2 separate regions of the Homo sapiens genome follow, and region 1 is linked to region 2. The links are contacts of gene promoters, found by promoter capture Hi-C in blood cells and fetal thymus (Javierre and others, 2016). All regions are on one chromosome and are shown on one strand. Each heading gives the region's core, a stretch centred on a gene start or on the middle of the fragment in contact. The rest is flanking DNA. Distances are from core to core; before and after follow the strand shown. Region 1 has its middle 29 kb from the start of APOBEC1. Region 2 holds the start of C12orf57 (chromosome 12 open reading frame 57).

Evidence for each region. The method cuts DNA at HindIII sites, captures the fragments that hold promoters and counts their contacts. A CHiCAGO score of 5 or more calls a contact.
Region 1: a contact is called between a fragment that was not itself captured here and the fragment with the promoter of C12orf57 in region 2, in 1 of 17 cell types (fetal thymus). The highest score is 5.3, in fetal thymus.

What each region holds. Positions count from the first base shown.
Region 1 is chr12:7,633,356-7,640,198 of GRCh38, reverse strand. No RefSeq gene overlaps it. Among named protein-coding and RNA genes, the nearest start is that of APOBEC1, 29 kb to the left of the region's middle. RefSeq lists silencers at 67-166, 1,248-1,377 and an enhancer at 1,819-2,353. The HindIII fragment of the contact is 304 bases long and covers 2,108-2,411 here.
Region 2 is chr12:6,939,812-6,946,162 of GRCh38, reverse strand. It overlaps C12orf57 (chromosome 12 open reading frame 57), which reads right to left and starts at 2,141. Exons shown (of 3, transcript NM_138425.4): 1 at 1,990-2,141; 2 at 1,511-1,687; 3 at 161-392. The coding sequence starts at 2,041. The coding sequence ends at 241. RNU7-1 (RNA, U7 small nuclear 1) reads right to left here and starts at 2,347; the gene lies at 2,285-2,347. It overlaps ATN1 (atrophin 1), which reads right to left. Exons shown (of 10, transcript NM_001940.4): 8 at 5,140-5,283; 9 at 4,609-4,789; 10 at 3,842-4,416. The coding sequence ends at 4,383. RefSeq lists enhancers at 314-924, 1,485-1,634, 1,174-1,753, 1,645-1,764, 2,065-2,254 and 3 more and a silencer at 1,592-1,851. The HindIII fragment of the contact is 10,579 bases long and covers 1-2,202 here.

The sequences.
Region 1 (6,843 bases), core at 1,010-3,509, 690 kb before region 2:
CGATGGGACTGGGCGCCGTGGAGCAGGGGGCGGCGCTCGTCGGGGAGGCTCCGGCTGCACAGGAACCCACGGAGGCGGGGGAAGGCTCAGGCATGGCGGGCTGCAGTCCCAAGGCCTGCCCCGCGGGAAGGCAGCTAAGGCCCGGTGAGAAATCGAGCGCAGCGCCGGTGGGCTGGCACTGCTGGGGGACCCAGTACACCCTCCGCAGCCGCTGGCCCGGGTGCTAAGCCCCTCACTGCCCCGGGCCGGCAGGGCCGGCCGGCTGCTCCGAGTGCGGGGCCGCCAAGCCCACGCCCCCCCGGAACTCCAGCTGGCCCGCAAGCGCCGCGCGCAGCCCCGGTTCCCGCTCGCGCGTCTCCCTCCACACCTCCCTGCAAGCTGAGGGAGCGGGCTGCGGCCTTCGCCAGCCCAGAAAGGGGCTCCCACAGTGCAGCGGTGGGCTGAAGGGCTCCTCAAGTGCCGCCAAAGTGGGAGCCCAGGCAGAGGAGGCGCCGAGAGCGAGCGAGAGCTGTGAGGACTGCTAGCACGCTGTCACCTCTCAATGGGATTAACCACACTTTACCCACGCAACCTTAGCTTATCTGCCTTGTGTGATTCCCTTTGACTTCCTAAGCCTATGTGATCTACCTGGCTCCCTGAAAAATTGATCTTTGGAGAGACTGTGTTGTTTTTGGTCAAGGCTCCTTTAACAGAGGCAATGTGCTAGACTGCCTGCTATTATGGCCCATGCCAAACCATTTACCCTCAGAAAAATGGTTCTGGTTAACTTCTGAACTTAAAATCTCCCTACTAATTATACCATTTTAACAGGAAACAGATTAGATGTCTTAAAAGAGCGTAGGAACAGAATGGCCATTTTCCTGCTTATGGGACAATATCAAGACTAAAATGTGGCAGCAGACATATTACTTCTTTTTGAGACAGAGTCTCACTGTCACCCAGGCTGGAGTGCAGTGACGTAATCTCAGCTCACTGCAACCTCTGCTTCCCCGTTTTAAGCAATTCAATAGCCTCAGCCTCCTGAGCAGCTGGGACCGCAGGTGTGCACCACCACGCCCAGCTAATTTTTGTGTTTTTAGTAGAGACGGGGTTTCACCATATTGGCCAGGCTGGTCTCGAACTCCTGACCTCGTGATCCACCCGCTTTGGCCTCCCAAAGTGTTGGGATTACAGGCGTAAGCCACCATGCCCGGTCGAGGACATATTACTTCTAATTGCTGAAGGCAGAACTTTCCGGTTCACAGAAGTAGGTTAGAGCCTGATTTCTGGTGGTGCAAAAGGAAGTTCAGTGTTACCGTAAAAAATGTGGCCCCTGAAGAGGATTTCTACTTCCACTAGGTGGCGCTGTTGGCTTAGAAATACTATATGCTCACCAGCGCAGCCACAGAGAGCGGGCTTGTTGAGTTACTGCCTGCTGCGTTTGCCATCTTTCCTAGCAGACCTGTTTCACTGAACTGTAAAACTCCCTGCACTTTTCACAGAGAGAGAGTAAGAGACCGTGGATAGAGAAAGAAGGAAAATTTTGCAACAGGATAGTAAGAAGAGAGCCTTGAAATTGAAGGAGAGATTTGAGGTTGGGGCTCGCTCTATAGTCACCACTCCGATGAATGAATTCCCGGTCAATGCAACCAAAATGATAACTGCTCTGATGAATGGAAGAACAGCAGGGTCCTTGGTCTAACATCGTTTTAGATAAAGCGACATGGACACATGTAGAGTGGTTTTAAGGAGTGGAGAGTTTAATAAGCAAGAAAGAAGGAAGAAGCTTCCCAGTACAGGGACAGAGGGAGGGGGGCTCCCAGAGAGAAACCCCGTGTGTGGCAGAGTAGTTTGTTATAGCAGGAGGCTGGAGGAGGAGGTGTCTAATTTGCATAGGGCCCAGGAGATTGGTTTGACCAGGCGTGTCATTCACATAGCCCGTGAAAAACCTGGCACTCCTACCTTACTCCTTTAATATGCAAATGCAGGTCACCATGATATCCATGTTATCTGGAGGCAATCATGACACTTGGCACATGTAGTGATGAGGAGGAGAGGGTGGCACTCTTCCTGTTGGCCATGTTGGGTGGACCCAGTTTCTAATCGCCAGCATTTGCATATCAAAGCTTGCCGGCCTGGTTTTTCAAGCTGCCTTTCTGTTAGAAAAGAAATGGTTTGGGGGTTGCTTCTTATTACAGGAAAATTTCCACTGAGAACCTTTACCCTTTCTAGCGGCCTAAAAGTTATTTCTTAATAATTCCTGTATTATTTGGAGGTGTTTGGGTCATGTGGGTAGATCCCTCCTGAAGTAATGAGTTCTCACTGTTCGTTCACACAAGAGCTTGTTGTTTAAGAGTCTGGCATCTCGCTTGCTCCTACTCTCACCATGTGGCACACTGTCGCCCCTTTGCCTTCCACCATGATTGTAAGCTTCCTGAAGCCCTCATCAGAAGCAGATGCTGGCACTATGCTTCATGCACAGCCTGTAGAACTATGAGTCAACTTAACCCCTTTTCTTTATAGATTACCCAGCCTCAGGTATTCTTTTATAGTAATGCAAGCAGACTAACACAAAGCTCATTATATATTTACAGTAGAGATGGATGTTAATACATGAGCATATTTTATATGAGCCACTATAATTATTGCTATTCCTATAGGAGAAAAATTATTCAGCTGATTAGCAAACTTTCACAGAGAAAATATCTAATGGTCATTAGCTGTACTATGAACTTTAGGCTTTATTTTCTCATTCACAGTTGGAGGCTCAACAAAAATTGTATCAGCTAAATTATCATTTGATATCAACCTTCATGATAGATATTGTTGTAGTAAAGCAAAGTAAAATGAAAGTAAAGTCAAAGTAAAGCAAAGTAAAAGGCTAGAGAGTGTTGGAAGCAGTGAATCCTATTTTAGATGGACTTGCCAAGGATACTGGTAATTTTCTTTTTTTTTTGAGATGGAGTCTTTCTTTGTCATCCGGAGTGGAGTGCAGTGACTTGATCTTGGCTCACTGCAACCTCTGCCTCTGGGGTTCAAGCGATTCTCCTGCCTCAGCCTACTGAGTAGCTGGGATTATAGGCACGTGCCATCATGCCTGGCTAATTTTTGTATTTTTAGTAGAGACGGGGTTTCACCATATTGGCCAGGCTGGTCCCGCACGCCTGACCTTGTGATCTGCCCACCTCGGCCTCCCGAAGTGCTAGGATTACAGGCATGAGCCACTGCACCTGGGCGGATACTGGTAATAAAGTAAATGAGCAGGTCATGTGAAAATCTGGAGAAAGTTTATTTCAAGCAGATGGAAGAAGGTGCAGGCATTTGAAATTGGAACAAAACAAATTTGGCATTTTTTAAGGAATAAAAAATGTGGTTAGAGTGGAATAAATGAGGTGAGAAAATGTAGGAAATAGGGCCAGGGAGACAAGCAAAGGTAAGATTATGTAGGGAAGTATAGGTCATGGAAAGAAATTTGGATTTTCTTTTGAGTAAACTGGATTTTAGAAATTTGTGGTAGTGCAGGATTTATTATGTATTAACAAGAACTGGTTGCCTGCTGTATGGAAAACAGATATAGTGGGGCAAAAGTGAAGTAAGGAAGTCCAGTTAGAAATACAGCAGATATCTAGTAAAGACTAAGCTCTGATTTTTTATCTGGCCTAAATTCCTTATTAAGGGGTATGGGGAGTCATGACCCACAAACCATAAATTCTCATCAGATGGGTTTTATTTAATCCTGTATATTACGACTTACTTTCCAATCTGACTCTGGCATAACTAGAAAGAAAATAAAAATGTTTTACCCCAAAATATATTTTCTTGCCATACCTTGAAATTGCCCTGCAAAGTCCCTTGTGGGAAAAATCCACATTCTATAGAGAATCCCCTTTCCCCTTTGTTTTCCTTTCTTCCTTTCTGGATCCAGGAGATAATCAACTAAGAGCCAGGTACCCTTTTAGGTCTGATAGGAAACATTTTACAACCTGCTGTCTCTGAAGTCTGCTATCAGAGAGCTTCCTCTGCACAATAAAACTTGGTCTCCACAATTCTTTATCTTAACTTGAACATACCTTTCTTTTTTTTGAGACAGAGTCTCACTCTGTCACCCAGGCAGGAGTGCAATGACGCAATCTCGGCTCACTGCAACTTTCGCCTCCTGGGTTCAAAAGATTCTTGTGCCTCAGCCTCCCAAGTAGCTGGGGTTACAGGCACCCACCACCATGCCCAGCTAATTTTTGTATTTTTAGTAGAGACAGGGTTTCACCATGTTGGCCAGGCTGGTCTCGAACTCCTGACCTTGGGTGATCCACCTGCCTTGGCCTCCCAAAGTGCTGGGATTACAGGTGTGAGCCACCACACCCGGCCTGGACATTTCCTTTCTATTGATCCCAGCTCTTCAGATAAACTCAACCAACTGTCATACAGAAAATGTTTAAATTTACCTATAGCCTGGAAGCCCCTGCTTTGAGTTGTCCTGCCTTTCTGAACCAAACCAATGTATTTCTTAAATGTATTTGATGTGTCATGCCTTCCTAAAACATATAAAAGCAAGCTGTACCCCATCCATCCTGGGCACATGTTCTCAGGACCTCCTGAGGGCTGTGTCATGGGCCATGGTCACTCATATTTGGCTCAGAATAAATCTCTTCACATATTTTATAGAGTTTGACTATTTTCATCCATACTAGGAAATATGACTATTATCTCTACTGAAATAAAGATACAAGTGGTGAGAAGTAGTAAGATTTGGGATATATATTAAAGGTTTAGTTGACAGGATTTGTTGATGGAATAAATGTATGCTACAAAGGGAAAACTCATGACTTTTACATTTTTAGCAAGAACAACCAGATGAATGATACTGTCACTTAACTGAAATGAGGAACACAGGGCTAGGAGTGGTTTGAAAGTGAAGTCAAGAGTTCCATTTAATTATGTTAACTTTTAAAATGTTTATTAGACATACAAGTGGACAGTTATTCATGTCTGAATTTGATAGAAAAGGTAAAATCTGGGGATTAAAAAAATGGGCTTTACATATGCATTGTCTTAAAGTCACAGGAATGGTTGACCTTACTTAGACATGTGAATATGAATTGTGGACATAAGAAAATTGAAGACCAATCCACAGGATTTACCAACATCTGGAGATCAAGACAAAGACGAAGAAACAGCAAAGTTGGCTGAGTAGCAGTAGCCAATAAGATAAAAGATAAATCAGAAAACTTTTATCCCAGAAGCCAAGTGGAGAGAAAAGTGTTTTAAGAATGAAGATGGGGAAGATTCTAGGTAGGTGGTTTTAGTACAGTGCACTTTAAAAATCTCCATCTAGGGCAGCAAAACCAAGGAGCAATGAACAAAACCCATTTATAGCAAAACTAGATGGCAAAATTTCTCCATGAGCTTTCAGTTATGAGAAGATGATGACGAATTATCAGTAACTACACAACCCACAAAGTATCAGCATCTGTTTGGGAAGTTGGACAGGATCCAACTCACAGGAAAGTCTAATAGGGCCACAGTGCAATAAAGTATAAAGATGTTGGGTAAGTCTGGGCCCTATAGACTTTCTTTTTTTAAAAATTTTTAACCTTTTTTTTTTTGGAAATGGAGTCTCGCTCTCTCGCCCAGGCTAGAGTGCAGTGGCGCGATCTCCCCTCATTGCAAACTCCACCCCCCGTGTTCACGCCATTCTCCTGCCTCAGCCTCCCAAGTAGCTGGGACTACAAGCGCCCGCCACCACGCCCAGCTAATTTTTTGTATTTTTAGTAGAGATGGGGTTTCACCATGTTAGCCAGGATGGTCTCGATCTCCTGACCTCGTGATCCACCCGCCTTGGCCTCCCAAAGTGCTGGGATTACAGGCGTGTGCCACCGTGCTCAGCAAATTTTTTTAACTTTTTAGTTCAGGGGTACATGTGCATGTTTGTTACATGGGTAAACTTGTGTCATGGGGGTTTGCTGTACAGATCATTTCATCACCCAGATATTAAGCCTAGTACCCATTGTTATTTTTCCTGATCCTCTCTCTCCTCCTACCCTTCACCCTCCAACAGGCCTCAGTGTGTGTTGTTCCTTTCTATGTATACATGTGTTTTCATCATTAGCTCCCACTTATAAGTGAGAACACATGGTATTTGGTTTTCTGTTCCTGCATTAGTTTGCTAAGAATAATGGTCTCTAGCTCCAGCCATGTCCCTGAAAATGACATGATGTTTGAGCTAATGGATATCGCAATTACTTTGATTAGATGATTATATACTACATGCCCGTATCAGAATATTACATGTGCTCTATAAATATGCACAACTATTATGGATCAGTAAAAAATAAAAATAAACCAAGGCTGTCATTTTCAAGCTACAAAAGAAAAAAGGCGATTAGGTCCTACATATGTCCTTTTCCATGTCATCTAAGTCTAACTTGGCTTATAAGATCACAATCAATATCCTAAATGGGAATATGGGATTTTAAGAATTTTCTCTTAGCTTCTAATTTTCTTTAGCTTCTAATATTTCTGTAGATAATATGCCAGTATATTGAAAGTACATATATCACACAGGGGCAACAGTTATGTTTCCATGTAAGAATTTATTCCCCAAATAGTTATTCCACACTTACAATGTGCCAGCCTGGGGTATAAATTAGGAAGCAAATTAGACATATTTCCTATTATGAAGAGGTTACATTTACATATGAGTAGATATTAAAAGCAAATAAAAGGCAGTGTTGTTAAGGCCTAAGACGAGGTAAGAAAACCAAATAATGCCTCTTAACTTAGACTTGGAAGAGCAAGGATGCCCTCCTGCAGGGAATGACATCTCAAAGAATTAGGTCACTAGTAGAAGTTACGTAGCTGAAGAGT
Region 2 (6,351 bases), core at 892-3,391:
AAGGGGAGGAGCCTCAGGTAGGGTTAGGCCCTGGGGCAGGGTTAGGCCCAGCCAGGACCATAGGGAGGAGCTGTTCAGGGGGATGGGGCCTGGAAAGGCAGAGGGAATCAGGGAAGGAGAGATGGGGGTTGTCAGGTCCGCAAGAGACTGACACCAAGGCTAAGTCACAGGCGCATTTATTATTGTCTGGAACATCAAGGCCTTTCCTCCCCTGGCAGTGGCACAAGGGAGGGCCAACTCTCAGGAGGCGGCCACGCTGCCACCAGCAGCAGGCCCATGGGGTGGCAGGGTCATGGGCGGCAGAAACAGCGCCTTCAGCTTGCCTGACAGGCTGGCGATCTCAGGATCCTGGGCTTCGTAGGACTTGACCAAGCGAGCAAACTTAAGGACACCTGCAAGAGGGAGTGGAAGGTCAACCCTTCTCCTAAGGACCAGCGTGCCTAAGACACCTGGAGGGGGTGGTAGTCTAAGCATGAACTGCTCCCCCACTGGCTGGGCAGCTGTTTGCCAAACAGGACGCATGCAGGCCTCTGTCCCGTGTGGTTTGGATGATGACATTTGGTCTACACTGGGCACAACTAGATGGGATGCAGTGAATGAAAATGTCCCAAGGCAGTGTGCTTCTTGCTCTCAGGTGAACCATTTTAGCAGTTTAGTCACTGGAACCCCAAGAATGAACACGAGACCCCAGGTCTGTAGCTGGAACTCAGGAAGGCTATGAGGCAGCAGAGCTGAATCAGTCAACACCTTTGGGGAACACCAGGATCTCACCAAAAATTTAACCACCAACCCCCCCCAAACAAAAATTAGCTGAAACACCCTGGAGAGACTGCAGCCACTGCTGTCATGCAGACATGTCACTAAAAGGTGGCACAACAGCATTTAAGTCCAGCTCTGCTACTCGAGAGTCTGCACCATTAGAGTTTGCTTCCTCATCACAAAATGGAATAATAATGTGATTAACAGTACAGGTTGACCATCCTTAATTAGAAAATCCAAAATCTGAAATTATGAGTGCCAGTGTGAGGCCGAAAATGGAAAATTCCACACCTGACTTCATAGTGGGGGGTGGGGGAGACTGTAGTCAAAACGCAGTCAAAACTTTGTCTCATGCACAAAATTATTCAGACTATTATATAAAATTACCCTCAGGCTATGTGCATAAGGTGCGTGTATATGAAACAAAACAATTTCGTGTTCAGATTTAGGTCCCATCCCCCAAGATATCCATGTATATGTAAATATTCCGAAATCTGAAAAAACCCGAAACACTTCCGGTCCCAACCATTTCGGGTAAGGGATACAGAACCTCTACTGTACAAAACGCAACTCGGACGCACAAGCTCAGGGTAGACCCTGGGCTCTGAGTGCCAAGAATGTTAGTCAGATTGTGGCTGCCGCCGTGTGGCGAGAAAGGGGACAACCGCTCATGGGCCCACAGATCCGGCGCCCTCTCCCGACCCAACTCCCGCCTTCCCGCGTCTGACCCGCCTTCCCGCGTCTGACCCACCTTCCCCGTCGCAGCTGAAGCCATAGGCTTTGATAACCTCCTGCTGGATCTGCGTGGCCACGGGCAGCACGAATTGCAGCATCTTACCCATGTCGTTGCAGGCGTTATCCCGAGCCTCGTCCATGCGCACTGCATTCTCCGGGGCGGAGAACGCCTGGATCACCTCCGCGAGGACCACTGCGCGCCAGAAGCATCCCAGGGAGGCGTCCCGGGTAGGCGTCGGAGAACAGACAGCGGGCCCAGCGGAGAGCGCAAGGAATTAGTGGATTGAGGCTGTAGGTAACCCAATAAGATCCCAAGTCTTGGGGGCAAGCGCCCCACTTAGAAGGACGGTACCCGGCGTCCCCTACCCCATTTTCCCGGCGGACGTAGCCAGGTTTGTCGCCCCACATCCTCCGCCCGCATCCTCCCCAGACCAGCAGCCCATGCCTTGACTACCCCAGGCCAGCAGCCTATGCCTTGACTAGGACGATTCTCACCCTTTGCTTGCTCAGCGCTCAAGGCCGCCGGTTGGGTCGAGGCGGACGCCATAGGGCGTCTGAAGCTCTAGGTTCAGCGGAGGTAAATGGAAAACTCACGAATAAAGAGCCACGTCCTACAACCGTTCCCAACGCCCCTGGGAGCGGAAAGGAAACAGCATCCGGCGCAGCCGGAAGCGCCCAGGCGTGGCCCAAACCTTCATACCCCAAGCTTACAACTGCATCAAGACCACCAAAACTACCCATAATTTTTGCACAGTGAAAACAATCTATCATTGGCAACAAACATCATAAGAGGGGCTTTCCGGTAAAAAGCCAGAAAGCCTACTAGACAAATTCTAAAAGAGCTGTAACACTGCTGCGTATGTGTTTGGAGAGAAGATGGGATATAAAGGAACTCCACAATTGATGAGGGTGAGCTTAGGTGACTTTTTTCTTGTTCCTATTACTGTATAAACAACGACGCATGTGGTAACTTTCAGTAGGAAAAATAATATTCTAAGGAACTTACTTAAGTCATTCATTTCTAGAGTTCGCGAACATTTGTTCTCAGCCCATGCAAATGAGTTCGGTGCTGATTGGTTGAGAAAGCAGCCAGTCACAGCCCCTTCGTTGTTGTTAAGCCCGGAGACCTGGATTCGGCAGTAAAGGCCCAGAGCAAAAGCCGTTGTCGCAGTTTCCTAAAGGCCTTGTCTATTGATGAGCGATGGAGCCTAATGCCCGGCCCGATTTCCCTTCCCTTCCAGGCTTTTATCACCCACTCCCTTCTCAAACTGTAGGTGGTTAAGGATGCCAGGTACTAATCGCCTGGACCTATTAAAACTAGCCCACCCCACCCCCGCTTCATAACCGGCTTTGTTTTTTGTTTTTGAGACGGAGTCTTGCTCTGTCGCCAAGCTGGAGTGCAGCTGGGGGGGATCTTGGCTCACCATAACCTCCACCTCCCGGGTTCAAGCGATTCTCCTGCCTCAACCTCCCAAGTCGCTGGGACGACAGGCGCGCGCCACCATGCCCAGCTAATGTTTTGTTTTTAGTAGAGACAGGGTTTTGCCATGTTGGCCAAGCTGGTCTGGAACTCCTGACCTCGTGATCCGCCCGCCTCGGCCTCCCAAAGTCCTGGGATTACCAGCGTGAGCCGTCGCGCCTGGCCTCATAACCGTTTCTTAAAGTATTCCACGGAAAGGTTTCAGGACTCTGAAGCCCTTGTTCCGGAGGACTCTGGTGGCTCCTAGCAGTGAGACCCGTCTGAATAGATTCCTAGAACTGACCACGTCAGAGGTGGGCCTGTCCCAGGCCTCTAGTGTTTGGTTGGTTGGGGTGTCTTTTGTTTGTTTGTTTTGAGATAGGGCCTTGCTCTGTCACCCAGGCTAGAGTGCAGTGGTGCGATCATGACTCACTGTAGCCTCGACCCCCAAGTGATCCTCCCACCTCAGCCTCCTGAGTAGCTGGGACCACAAGTGCACCACAACCCCCAGCTGATTTTGTCTTAAGATGGGGTTTCTCTATGTTGCCCAAGCTGGTTTCCAACTCCTGGGCTCAAGCAATCCACCCGCGTCTCACAGGCATAAGCCACAGAGCCCAGACCGAGGCCTCCACTGGCGCGCAGCGGTCCTGCCCAGCCTTGGGGCAGGAGGGGGCACCAGCACCCATGGTACCGCCTCCAGCTGAGTCAAGGCTCTGGGCTCTTCAGGGATCCCCTCTCCAATTCTTCCCAGCCCCCACACCCCGTTCCTTAAGAAGGTCTGGTCTCTTCCCGCTTCCCTGCCAGGCCCTGGCTGCAGTTCTCTCTAAGCACCGCTGCACTGAGACCCAGCCTCACCCCCATATCCCGCAAAGAATAGTCACAGCCATGTTCCTGGGGAGTTGTGAGGATGTTTTTGTTTGGTTGGTTTTGGTTGGGATGTTTTTTTAAGAGCGTCATATAGATATTTATATATATAAATTATTAGTGTGGGGAAGGGGCAAGGGGCATACATTGCAGAGGGGGCGCGCACACAGGGATCGGGGAGGGGCAGGGGTGGCACACGATGCTACGCAAAACAGCCACATCTAACAGATGAAATAATCACACCAACGGGGCAGGGGAGGGGCGGCGGCCACAGGGGTTGGGCATGGGGGAGGAGAAAAGCAGGGGGGACAAGGAAGAGAGACCTGGTCCAAGATTCTGTGCGCTTTCTGTCCCCATCCTCGCCACCTCCCCACCTCTGCACACCACATCGGGCCTTGGCCTTCTGTCTGTCCCTCCCTCCCCCACTCTCTGTCCAGCTGCGGAGGCCCTGCAACTGAGCAGCACCCTCTTGGCTCTGGGTGGCAGGCCAAGGGCACGGTGGGGGGAGGGTGGGGGTGCTCCAAGGTCCAATGTAGGAGCCATGGTGCTCTCTTGATCGCAGGTTCTACAGTGGCTTGTCGCTTTCCTTCTTCAGGTGACTAGGGAAGGGGCAGTGCATAGCAGAGAGGTAAGAGACTTGAGACCAACTCTGACCTTGCCCCCTCTTACCGAAGGGGTTGGGAGAGGAGGGGTTCCCTCCCCCAGGAGCACGGTGCCCAGCCGTACCATGCCCACAGCTCCTCCCAGGCTCGCTGAGCCCATGTCCCCTGGGCTGGGGCACCCTAGGGTACCTGTAGTAGTCCTCCTGGGCAGGCAGCGGCACACTGTGCAGCGGGTGATGGGCATGCAGCCACTGCTGCTGTTCCAGCGCCAAGCGCTGCAGCTCAGCTGACTGTGCGTGCATGGCCTGCAGCTGATGAGCTGCTGACATCGGGGCAGAAAGGGAGGCCGGCAGGTCCCGGTAAGGGGCAGCTGTGAGCAGGAAGGGCAAGGGGCATATGACCAACGGATAACAAGTACCTGCTCTGGACCAGGGGATAGCCAGCTCCTTTACATACAAAGGTAATGAACTAAAAAGTGAGGTAACACACCCAGTTCTGTAAGTTGCCAGTGGTAGGGTGGAATTGGGATTCGAACCTCTTAGGCTGACACTAAAACTCGTGCTTCTCTTGGGCAGAGCTCCAGCTCTCCTATTCCCATGCCCAGCTCCTCTAGGCACCTCCTCATCCCTCCCCAAGCCCAACTAGGCCCATCCCCCCACCCAAATACCTCCTTTCTGCCCTTTTCTCATTGGAGCTGCCTACCCCAACTTCCATCCTTACCAAAGAGCTGGTGACGAAGAACTTCGTTCTCGTGCAGAGGGTGAGGAAGCAGGGGGTTAGGGAGAGTTCCAGCTGGGTAGGGGATCCGGGTAAGGTGAGACCCTGAGGCCAGGGGGTCAATGAGAGGGTGCACCGAGGCAGAGGCTGGAGGGCAGAGAAGAGGAAGGTGTCACCAGAAGGCAGGTTTGGGGCAAACCATGCATTTGGGTGAAGGGATCCAAGCCTGGGAACTGAGTCAGACAAACACAAGGAGGTCCAAAGTGGAACAAAGGCAGAGTGGAAGAACTAGAGGCCTGGCAGGGGTGGACAGGCTGAGCCCTACTGGAGGAGGGACATATGGATGACACAGGACAGGAGATTACAGTCATCAGAAGGGTCTGAGGGGAAGGACAGAGAGAGGTAGACTGCGTGAAGAAGGTGGAAGATGATAGAAGTTTAGAAAATAAGACAAGAAGAGGCCGGGCACAGTGGCTCAAGCCTATAATCTCAGCACTTTGGGAGGCTGAGGCAGGCAGCTCACCTGAGGTGAGGAGTTCAAGACCAGCCTGGCCAAGATGGTGAAACCCTGTTTCTACAAAAAATACAAAAAAATTAGCCAGGCAGGGTGGCACACGCCTATAGTCCCAGCTCCTCGGGAGGCTGAGGCAGGAGAATCGCTTGAACCTGGGAGGTGGAAGCTGCAGTGAGCCGAGATCGCGCCACTGCACTCCAGTCTGGGCAAAAGAAAAAAAGGAAGCCGGGTGCGGTGGCTCACGCTTGTAATTCCAGCACTTTGGGAGGCCAAGGCGGGTGGATCACAAGGTCAAGAGATCAAGACTATCCTGGCCAACATGGTGAAACCCCGTGTCTACTAAAAATACAAAAATTAGCTGTACTTGGTGGCACACGCCTGCAGTCCCAGCTACTCGGGCAGGCAGTGCCTGCTGAGGCAGAAGAATCACTTGAACCCCAGAGGCGGAGGTTGCAGTAAGCCGAGATCGCGCCACTGCACTCCAGCTTGGTGACAGGGCGAGACTCCGTCTCAAAAACCAAAAAATGGTGAAAGGATAGTAAGTAAAGCTCATTATCGCCTATGACACCCAAACCCAAAGCTACAGGGCCCTTTCTAGAAAGTTACAGATCTAGAGATGGGGAAAAACATGAAAGACCTCGCAGAGGGAGAAGAGGAGAAAATGGCAAAAAATGAGTTGAATCCAGAGAAATCAGAAGATA